Regions from separate parts of the Homo sapiens genome. Here all the other regions are linked to region 1. Evidence: promoter capture Hi-C in 16 types of primary human blood cells and fetal thymus (Javierre and others, 2016). All regions are on one chromosome and are shown on one strand. The core of a region is centred on a gene start or on the middle of the fragment in contact, and the rest is flanking DNA. Distances in the headings are between cores, read along the strand shown. Region 1 holds the start of DBX1 (developing brain homeobox 1). Region 2 has its middle 30 kb from the start of HTATIP2. Region 3 has its middle 13 kb from the start of HTATIP2. Region 4 overlaps HTATIP2 (HIV-1 Tat interactive protein 2).

Region 1 (2,700 bases), core at 171-2,670:
GTTATACGCCTCGCAACCTCTGAACCAGAGCATAACCCCGAGGGGTGGACGGAGAAATACGGCTTCGGAGCAGGGAGCGATGGGCCGGGGCTGGGGCGCCGCCCTGCCTCGCGCAAAGAAGGGGGACGAGACCTACCTGGGAAATAAGAAGATCTGATGAAAGGCTGAAAAGACCCTTCGAAGTAGGGAAAGGCGAAGGTCTTGGGAGGGACGCTCTGGAGCAAGGCTGGGGATGTTTCTGGTGGGCGATGGAGGGGGGACAGAAGGAGAGAGGGAGACAGAAAGAATCTGATTACGTACTTGCCTATTGTATAGCACACTGAACACACGATATAATTAGCCCTTCATCTGGTTTCAAAGACATCTTTCTTATACGTTGACAGGGTAAAATAAATCTTCCCAACATTGTCTTATCTGTAAAACTCTTTTCTTTCTCCCCAACGTAATTCTCTGCGCCGTCCCACTCTACCCCAATCTCCATCCTAGGCACTAACGAGATAGGACTGAGTGGGGAGGAAAGAAATTGCAGATTTATAATATTTGCTAATCCAATAAATATATCATATTGAGTTTAAAAAAAAAAACTGTCTCCTAGAAGCTCGAAGGCAGAAACGCAGACGTCCAGGAGCGTGCGCTCAGCGTTACTGCACCAGATGACTGCGCACAGTCTCCGACTGCGTGTGCTCAAGTTCACTCCGAGGATGGGGCGAGCCTGGAGGCTTTTCTTCCCCGGAATTGACTGGACTATTCTCACATTGCCTGACGTAGGGTCTCAGAGTTCGTGCGTATTGTGTGTGCACCGATGTGTGTGTGGGGGCCCGCTCGCTAGAGGAAACTGAGGCCAGGATGACTCCGCGCATGCCTAGTACCTGAATGGGCCCTTAGGGTTCTGACCTCGCTTACCTGTTCTGGGCCCCGAGGAGAGGATGGCGTTCACTCCAAACTTCAGAAACGTCGTCTCGCTGGCAGGGGAGAAGGCAGTCGGCGGAGAGCCGCCCCGTCGGCTGCCGGGACCCGGGGAGCCCAGGTCCGAGGCCCCCGTGTCGGTGAGGGCCGTGGGGGCCCCCTGCCTGGGCGGCGACATGCTGGCGGTGGGCACGCTGCGGGGCAGGTAGGCGGGGGGTCGGCTGATGCGGATCAGATCCTCCACCAGGAAGCTGGAGTGGCCGGAAAATGCCGACTGCAAGGACTGGGGCAGCGTCAAGGTGGGCGTGGGCCGCAGGAGGCTAGGGTACCCGGCGGGGGGCGCGAGGAGGCCGGGGAACATCATGGTAGGCGCGGGCGGGCGAAATAACCCTTCTTTCAGTGGCCGGAGGGTAAACGCCTCGCTTCCCGCCCCTCCCGCCCCCACAGTGTCCTCTCTCTTGGGCTTAGCAAACGTCTCCAAGTAACAATCCCACTTGGGCGTCTGCGAGTCCTCCGTGGTCCTCTCGTCGAGGTGATGGTTTTATAGTGGCCCGCCCGCTAAAGCACTTTGAAAAGTGACAGCTCTGACAATGAAGTTCAACAAAGTTCTCCACTCGAGCTTCATTCGCCGGAGGCTCTGGACTCTCTGATTGGCGCAGGGGTGCAATTTATGATTGGATTAGTCTTCATAAGCATGGCCCGCACAATGGGCCGGCAACAAAGGCCCGCGCGCATCAATTTTGCATATCGACCGCCTCTTTGCAATACAGTGCGCCCCCAAAGCTCTCGCCAAAGGTTTTTGTTCCGAAGCAACACCCGGGCTAATTAAATGCCTATTTAGAAGTTTCAGATGACATCTTGCCTCATAGAAAAGGAATTATTTAAAGAACCCACTAAATTTATTTGCAGCTCCCCTGCTAAGCCTGGAAAATAAATCAATAAATATTCATAGAAATACATCTTCAGGCTATCAGCAAAGTTGCCCTCCCTCTTGTGGGGGTAGGGCAATGAAAAGTTTCAAGTCAGTGGACATGAAAATATACTCCCTTTCCGGTCTCTAGCCCTATCCGTTACTCCAGCTGAAGCATAAAGCAAATGTAGGGGTGAGTGAAATCAGTGTTAGAAGTCCCATTCTGACGACTCAGGGAAACTTGGAAACGGATGCTTTGGGGCCACTGGATGTGTGTCCGTAAGAGTGGGGAGAGGTCTGGAGTTATTTCATTTCGGGAGACTGGTTGAGTTTGAGCGTTGGTGGATACCTGAAAAGTAAAACGAGTCTCCTTCAAATTCCCAGCAACTTGGAAAACGATTTTCTCTAGGAGTTTCTGCAAGGGGCTGTCCGCACCTCACCTTGCGGGAGGAGCGGAGGAGAGCGGCGCTGGGCTGCCGAGCGGCAGGATTCCGCTTGCAAAGAGCTTAGGCTGACCGGAAACTGCCTCGGGCAAGGGTATCCAAAGGCTGTGAGTGCTATGCTGGCCGTTCTCCAAACACAGGGAGCTCTCGGCAGTTTAAGTTGAAACTCACAGCCCTGACATTTTAAGCCATAGCAGCGAAGGTCCAGACGTCGTCTGGAGAGAACCCTACCACTTGCGGGGCCCTTAACTTGGCCCAAGGTTTGGCAGCTTCTTAATTAACTACAACGCACAAACGCGTGAAAACCAGAGGGAAGGGATGCGGTTCCCAAGAATGTTGGTCCACTCCGGGAAAGCCTCCCCTGAATGTGGGGCTTCAAAGGAGAATCTTCCTGGAGACAGTCCCTTCGCTTTCCTCTGGTTGGGGCTGAGGTGGTACTAA
Region 2 (2,700 bases), core at 20-2,519, 170 kb after region 1:
CACTCTTAACTGCAGGGCTAGTAGCACTAACCATAAAGGTGTATAATCCCAGCTTTCACATAACGGAAGATCATCATTGCTGCCTGGTTGTACAGTACAGAGCTAAAACTACAGTATAGTCAATGAAAGTTACAGCATACTCAGACCACAGGTTAGGGCCCATATGTCAAAAGGATTTTTTAAATTAAGGAATCCAACCACTGCTGCAAACAAAAGATTCAGATTTTAAGTTTTATAATTTGTGCCTGCCATTTTTAATAATATTAATAATTAAACAATCTTATATGCTTCCTAGGTCATAAAAACCCAAAAATCTGCCTTTAATTTGGCTTTTCAACATGACGTGGTAGAGCAGAAAGCAATTGCTCTTAGGCTAGAACACCTGATTCAATTTCTGGCTCCAACACTTGCCTGGTATGGCCTTTATGCAGGTCATAAACCTCTGAGATTCCCTTCCTCTTCTGTAAAATGGGAATAACAGTGAAACCCACTCTACAGAGTCATTGTGAATGTACAATTACGCAATATATGATGCAAAAGTATTTTATGGCTGGGGATGGTGGCTCACACCTGTAATCCCAGCACTTTGGGAGGCCAAAGCAGAAGGATAACTTGAGCCCAGGAGTTCAGGACCAGCCTGGGCAACATAGTGAGACCCCATCTCTACAAAAAAATTTTAAATTACCTGGGCTTTGTGGCATGCATCTGTAGTTCCAGCTACTTGGGGGGCTGAGGTGGGAAGATCGCTTGAGACCAGCAGGTTGAGGCTGCAATGAGCAGTGATACACCATTACACTTAGCCTAGATAACACAGAGAAAGACCCTGCCTCAAAAAGCAAAACAACAACAACAAAACCAAAAAGTGCTTTGTATATTAAATATATCATTTAGGGTGATTTAGGTTGCAAGTAAGAGAAAATCCATTTCAAAGTAGCTTAAATATGCAGAAAATGTGTTGGCTTTCATACTTGATAAGCCATGAGATGGTTTAGGCTTCACCTCTTTTCTCCACACACCTCTCCACCCTGCTCTTCAGTGTGGGTGAACTTATCATTAGGTGGGCTTCAGGCATAGTCTTAAGATAGCTGACAGCAGAAGACTGGGCTTTCTCCTTCACATCCTGGAAAAGAGGATGCTTTACGCATCCTTCAAACACAGGTCTGAGTTTCACTGTGCTTAGACCAATCCTGAATAATGTCAAAGAAGTAAGGATCAACCAGATTGATTGAGAGCAATCAGAGCCCACCCCAGGACCAAAGTATAACGTCTATAACACCCAAAGTGTATGGATGCTAGGCAATGAGTGATGGTTTTCCAAAGGAAAGTTAGAATGAGAAAAAGGAAACAAATGAGGAGAAGGTACAAATCTCCACTCCATTGCATAAATGGTACAGCTTTGTATTCTGATGGATGTTAGTATCACACCTGAGTTTGGATACACACTTTTTACATCTGTGTTTTTAATCTCCCTACAGTTTTGCCTTAAGATATTTAAGTGGTTGAACTTATGACATTTACTTCCTTACTTTTTGTTGCCACTTCTCAAATTACTGAGATTATTCCAATGATGTAAGTCATATTACACATTCTATTTGTAATATATGGAAGAACTTAGAAAACTGCACTATACAAATGGCAGATACTCTCCTTGCTTCTTTGATTTCAATATGGTCTTTTGAGTTGGGGATGCTGACTACCATGTTAGGATCAGATGATTCTCTGTGTAGTCAAGTTCCTTGCAAACTAGATTCATTCATAAAGGATATGCCTTATAGTTTCCAAGAAAAACTACTCAGCCTAGCCCTCATTAAACAATGTAGCCTCAGGATTTTCTGAAACAGGTGGTTCACTGTAATTCTTAATAGAATAGCACTAACCATTTTTGCAACAGCTTAATTTATATGACTTCACAGCTCCCAATATGCTTAAAAAGAATCTAAGCGATGGATGGATGTTGAAATTTTGTAGATGTTAGGCCTGGGGATCAGACCCCTGCATAAAGGGTATGTCTAATGTAAACTGAAAACAATCATAACCAAAATCCGTAGCAAAATAAATACTTAAGACCTAAAGTTTTACTTCTTTCTATACTTCCTAAATATCATGAGACTTAAAAGTCTGCAACTTTACAATTGTTATGTGTTTTTACATATCTTTGTTCATTTGATTCTCACAACTTCCTTTGAGATAGATTAGTGAAGAATTACTAGCTTCACTGTTCCAATAAGGAAACTGAACCCAAGAAAGATTAAGGAGTTGTCAAAGGTCAAATAGGAAGTGTCAAATCCAGGTCTTTTGCTTCCAAGTTCAGTGCTCTTTCTACAACAGCATGGTGTACACATTTGGAAGTTTGTGGAGACTACTACAAAAATATCAGATTCACTTTGGGCTCTGGGAAAGAACTTAAACATCTGTGTTAGTAAACTCTTGAAATCAATTAGTAAGATAAGAATAGAGTCTTCGGCTGGGCGCGGTGGCTCACACCTGAAATCCCAGCACTTTGGGAGGCCAAGGCGGGCAGATCACTTGAGGTCAAGAGTTCGAGACCAGCCTGGCAAATATAGTGAAACCCCTGTCTCTACTAAAAATACAAAAATTAGTCAGACGTGGTGGCGCATGCCTGTAGTCCCAGCTATTCGGGAGGCTGAAGCAGGCGAGTCGCCTGAACCTGGGAGGTGGAGGTTACAGAGAGCTGAGATC
Region 3 (2,700 bases), core at 38-2,537, 190 kb after region 1:
TTGCCTGATTTGTCAGCAAAAACAAAAAATAATTTGAGGTGATGGCTGTGTTTAATATCTCATGAAATTTTCATGAGCAATTCAAGCATAATTACTAAGAACAAGTGAATTACTGTAAGTGGGATAAAAGTTTGTAAATGAACTTTTCAGCAATAATTATGATGTATAAATTATGGTTTTTAATATGTCTACTTAAAAATAGTTTCCACTCTTTTTGGTAATTTGAAACCTTAAAGCTTTAGTAAGTTAAGTTAAATTATGAGTATTCATTGAACATCTAGATCATTTCCAAATAAGATGAAACAATGAAACATTAATTGCTGAATATAAGTTTAAGTTTGTATACTTCTGTCATCTTGTTTTTATGCAGTATAGAGAATCTAAATATATTTGAGTCTGCTAATAAATATGAGAAATTGTACTATGAGGAAACAGCATATACCTATAAGAAATGTGAGATGAGGCTGGCATGGTGGCTCACGCCTGTAATCCCAGCATTTTGGGAGGCTGAGGTGGAAGGATCACTTGAGACAAGGAGTTTGAGACCAGCCTGGTCAACATAGCAAGACCCCATCTCTACAAAATAAAAAGTAAAAAAAATTAGCCAAGTGTGGTGGTGCATTCCGACAGTCTCAGCTATTCAGGAGGCTGAGGTGGAAGGATCGCTTGAGCCTGGAAGGGTGAGGCTGCAGTGAGCAGTGATTGTGTCATTGTACTCTAGGCTGGGCAACAGAGCAAGACCCTGTCTCCAAAAAAAAAAAAAAAAAAAAAAAAAAAAAAAAAAGAAAGAAAGAGAGAAAAGAAAAGAAAAAGGGAAAAAAAGAATGTTAGTGTCATAAATGTATGATGCAACAGTAAAATGATGGTTTTTTGGATTATGGGTCTTCTCTTAAAAAGAAATTGTAAAATGGCTTTTCTTTACCTTTTAAGTAACCTGCCTAGCAAACAAAGATTTGTGTCTGATCAAAATAATTTCCTGTGCTTCATGTTGTCTTTTCAGTTCTTGCAGGCCCAGGAACTTCATAATATTGGGGGAACCTTAAGAAAAGAGGAATTTGCCTAAATATGCAGAGATTGCAGGCAAGGTCTGATGGCAAGTCCCTGGCATGGCTTCCTAGCCTTAAGAGGCTTTTAAAAGTCTAATCTGAGATTTTTTTATGCAAAGTTTTAGCAAAGCGAACTAAAAGAAAGGGACCTATGTGGTCAGTCACTATTCTTGCTGTAGTATTGTCAACAATCCGACCAAGTTTAATGAGACTAGGCTCCTTTTGCAAACAAATTAGTTTCACTTTGATTATTTTTTAGAGAAATGGAGGTGATTGTAGAGAGAAAAATTATGTTTCAATGGAAACCTGTAGCACAGCTTTGTGAGTATTCCATTTTAGTCTTGTTCATTGTCTTTAAGGTTTTGTTATCTACCTATAAACTGAGTCCTGAATCTTCTAGTTTCCTCCAATATCTGTCTACAGCTCTTCAAATTAATGTTTCACATTTTTCTCTAGCCTCCTAAAATGGCACCACGGAGAGCTAAAACCTGACGGCTCATATTTTTATTGGGACTGTCTTTAACCTCCTTTTTGGGTCTTTATTTCCTAATGAAGGCTTCCATGTCACATAAAACATCTTAAATACATTCATATGACTTTCTCTTGTTAATCTGTCCTTGGTTATAGGGGCTTCAGCTAAGAACTTAGAAGGATAGAAGGAAAGGTTGGTTTTCCTCTCCTACACAGACAAATACCCGCACAGGTCCAGGTCCAGTAGGGAAGACAGTGCATCTCTTTTCATGGTTAACAGCCAAATAGGAATTATGTCACATGAGGTCTGATTGAGTAATGTGCCTAACCCTAAAACAATCGCTGTTGTCGGGGAAGGAAACGTTCAGACTGGCTAGAAGTGAATCATAGGCCCAGCCTTAGAGTTGAAAGTAGAATTGCTGCTAGAGTCACCTGCAGGACGGGGAATGGGAAGGGGCGGGCCACAAAGGAAATAAGGAATCGATGCTGGATAAAACAGTACAGCTGTCTGCTACAAGTGTTGTCACTCATTGATGTAAAAATAAACACCAATAGATGACACAGCATAAAATTTGCATGAATTTTTAAGAAAATATATATAATTTCATTAAAATTTATTTTTGCATTCCCCAAGCTCCAAAAATAGGTTTGCACTTTTCCCTACTCTAAGGAGTGTCTCGATATATTTACTCAATATTTACTGAGCATCCGCCAAGTGCCAGGCACTAATCCAGGTGGCAGGAATATAGTAATGAACCAAACAGATACAACTCCTGTCTTCATGGAGTTTGCTTTCTAGTGGGATGTTCACCTGCACCCACCCAAGCTTCTGCTCACAATCTGAGACGACTGAATAAGGCATTCATTCCTCAGCCCTTCTCCCCAGCTTTCTTTTAAACTGGGAGAAAAATATGTTTCTTAGCTCAGCTCTTCTAATGTCATTGCCAAGAGGGAATTTAGCCTCAAGGAACATTCCATGTCTTTTCCTCCTGGCTGTCTGCCTTTCAGTCTCTAGACTCTTCTTCCTCCCTAGAAGGGAGAGGTCTAGGCTGTGTTTTAATTTCCAAGCTCTTTGATCTCCAGCTGCCACTTTAAAGTTTGAGGTATGAGGGAGTGCCCTTCCTTTGTGTGAGTACAGCCTGCATAGTCTTTCCGGGTGTCATTCATTTGGTTTGGTGAGAAG
Region 4 (2,700 bases), core at 135-2,634, 220 kb after region 1:
AGAGAGACCTCTGATGTCTCTTCCTCTTATGAGGACCCCAGTCCCATCACACTAGTCCTATTCCATCCTTAAGACCTCATTAAACTTAATTACTTCCCTTAATGCCTTATCTTCAAATATAGACACCTTGGGGATTAGGGCTTCAACATTAGAATATTGAGGGGATACAGTTTTGTCCGTAATGCCCACTGTGGTCTCAGTGCAATTTACCACCTCTTCCTCTGCTTTTCTTTCTTTTTTTTTTTTTTTTATTTTAGAGTTCTGTTATGTGATAGGCAAGAATCTCGCCCAGGTGAATGGCTGGTTAGAAAGTTCTTTGGCTCCTTACCAGACTCTTGGGCCAGTGGGCATTCTGTGCCTGTGGTGACCGTGGTTAGAGCAATGCTGAACAATGTGGTGAGACCAAGAGACAAGCAGATGGAACTGCTGGAGAACAAGGCCATCCATGACCTGGGGAAAGCGCATGGCTCTCTCAAGCCATGACCACATTGGAGAAATGGTTTTTATTGTCAACCTTAACACCCATCACCAAATCGGTAATTTCAGGGTCTAAAAAAAGTCAGCATGTTTTAACTTTGTTGTTTTACTATCCTCAGGCATCCATTCCAATCAAGAAATGATGGTGCTCTGCATCAGTGGTTCAGAGCCTGGTTATACATATAGATCACTCAGGGAGCTTTGGAAAAATAAAGATTTGTCAGCCCTATCTCAAACTTGAATCAAAATTTCTGGGGTGTGGGCACAATAATCTGTAATTTTCTTTGTTTATACTTCCCCTGATGCCACTGGTTCCGATGCCACTGGCTGGGGGGCCTGCTTTGAAATGCTTGTCTGCAGAGTCACAGCAGCCATGAAAACCTTATGACCGTGCAAATGAGCTCTGCTCTAAAATTGTTGACATTCATGTCTCTGAGTTACAAAAGTGCTAATTCACTACATGTAATTGTGTAAGTAAACATTGTGCCTTTACTACTTCTTTATGTAATAGAAGTTATATACCTAAGCTTATATAATACATGGGGAGGATTAAATAAAGGAATAAAGATGAATGGACAACTCCTGGGTGCCTCTTAGATTGCTTGAAAATGCCCATGTAGTGTGATATGCAGCATTTCAGCCTATGGGGTGATATAATAGCAGCTAATATTTACCAAATGCTTGCTAAGTACCAGTCTTTACATGTGTTATCTGTGCTTTAACCCTCTTATAAACAATCCTTATAAAGTGATACTATCATGATCTTCATGTCTTAGATGGGGAAATGAGGCTCACTGTGGTTAAGTGCCTTGCTCAAGAGTCCAAATCTGAAGAACTGAAGCAAAGAAATGGCAGAGTCAGGATTCTAACCCAGGTCTGCCTGATCCCATAGATCCCATATATCGTGTTTTTAAGCACCCTGCAAAAGCATTCTGTTCCCGTATATTTCCAGGTAGTTCCAGTTGATTGTTACTACATGTTGTGGATGAACAAAATCGAAATATTTGGGTTTCTCCTTTGTTCTAGTGATTAATTACTAAATGTTCACATAGCCAGTAAAATTCTATGCCACCAAACTTTAAAGTGCTCATGCTGCTGCACTTTAAAAATTAAGGCAAAGGAAGATGCAGAAGGAAGGGTCAAAGCCAAGAGGAACATACATTGCTAATTTCCATCATAGAACAAAAGATGTTAATGTAACTTGTCTTAACGTCTGCACCAGGGAAGCAAAGTGATTCGAGGGACTCAGTCAATTCTTCCAAGGCCTACTGTATGCCAAGTACATTTCAAGCTTCAGTATACACTGGAGGATAAAGGCCATTCTCCTTAATTTGGAGTGTATATCCTTAGAAGGGAGAAGACATTCCCAGTGTCAGTCACCCAAAAAAGAGGCATATTTTAGGGCAGGGTGGGATATTGAAATGTGAGCTTTAAAAGGAAATGAAATATCTTCCTTCTGCCAGGTGGGGTTCCCTGGGAGTTGGACTTTGAAGAGCCTAAGTGTGTTGTTTTGATGGTGAAAAAGCATGGGCCGAGGATATGTTGAGGCCTCTGGGCTCTGAAAGCAGCTAAACCCAGTGGCCTGTTTTAAGTTATTCTCCTTATATTATTTCCTTACTCACAAACCTTCGAGCAGGTTTCATTCAACATGTTATTCTGGTCTCAGTAGTGATGTGGGATAATGAGGAAGGGTCTGTGTTCACCTTTGGAGTAGAGAGAAAAGCAGCCCTCTCTTGAGCTCTGCATTGTGGTGAGATATGAACTTACTAAGGAACAAGACTCTGGCCCAATCACTCCTCCACAATGGGTGTTAACTTGTTTTATTGTCAACACTGAATGGACTGGGTGTTCCATTTAGTACTAAGGGATTCAGGAAGTTTTCCACCAAATGTTACACAGACAGAAAAAGTTTATGTTGGAAGGATGAAGGGAAAAGTTGGATGGGCCCAGGTAATCAAGTGTTCATTAATTCATTCAGCAAATGCTTATTCAGTGCCTTTCATGTGCCACTGAGCACACAGGCACTGGGGATGCATCCATGAACGATGACTCCAACTCAAGAGAGCCAGCAGCTATTCTGGCAATGTCCTAGGATGTAAGAAAGCTTCAAAATTAATATTTGGGCCGGGTGCGGTCAATCACGCCTGTAATCTCAGGACTTTGGGAAGCCGAGGTGGGCAGATCACTTGAGGTCAGGAGTTCAAGACCAGTCTGACCAACATG

What was found. Contacts are between HindIII fragments. The CHiCAGO score rates a contact against its expected background, and 5 or more counts as called.
Region 2: a contact is called between a fragment that was not itself captured here and the fragment with the promoter of DBX1 in region 1, in 3 of 17 cell types (fetal thymus, activated CD4 T cells and endothelial precursors). The highest score is 7.4, in fetal thymus.
Region 3: a fragment that was not itself captured here is called in contact with the fragment with the promoter of DBX1 in region 1 in 8 of 17 cell types (activated CD4 T cells, naive CD4 T cells, fetal thymus and 5 more); the score reaches 11.6 in activated CD4 T cells.
Region 4: a contact is called between a fragment that was not itself captured here and the fragment with the promoter of DBX1 in region 1, in 2 of 17 cell types (activated CD4 T cells and non-activated CD4 T cells). The highest score is 7.0, in activated CD4 T cells.

Annotation. Positions count from the first base shown.
Region 1 is chr11:20,159,055-20,161,754 of GRCh38, forward strand. It overlaps DBX1 (developing brain homeobox 1), which reads right to left and starts at 1,421. Exons shown (of 4, transcript NM_001029865.4): 1 at 904-1,421; 2 at 137-238. The coding sequence starts at 1,270. RefSeq lists enhancers at 1,801-2,302, 2,303-2,700. The HindIII fragment of the contact is 3,864 bases long and covers 1-2,700 here.
Region 2 is chr11:20,332,042-20,334,741 of GRCh38, forward strand. No RefSeq gene overlaps it. Among named protein-coding and RNA genes, the nearest start is that of HTATIP2, 30 kb to the right of the region's middle. The HindIII fragment of the contact is 4,082 bases long and covers 1-2,700 here.
Region 3 is chr11:20,349,455-20,352,154 of GRCh38, forward strand. No RefSeq gene overlaps it. Among named protein-coding and RNA genes, the nearest start is that of HTATIP2, 13 kb to the right of the region's middle. The HindIII fragment of the contact is 2,107 bases long and covers 235-2,341 here.
Region 4 is chr11:20,382,723-20,385,422 of GRCh38, forward strand. It overlaps HTATIP2 (HIV-1 Tat interactive protein 2), which reads left to right. Exons shown (of 5, transcript NM_001098522.2): 5 at 258-1,060. The coding sequence ends at 483. Among named protein-coding and RNA genes, the nearest start is that of PRMT3, 3.6 kb to the right of the region's middle. RefSeq lists a silencer at 2,188-2,388 and an enhancer at 2,321-2,700. The HindIII fragment of the contact is 764 bases long and covers 1,003-1,766 here.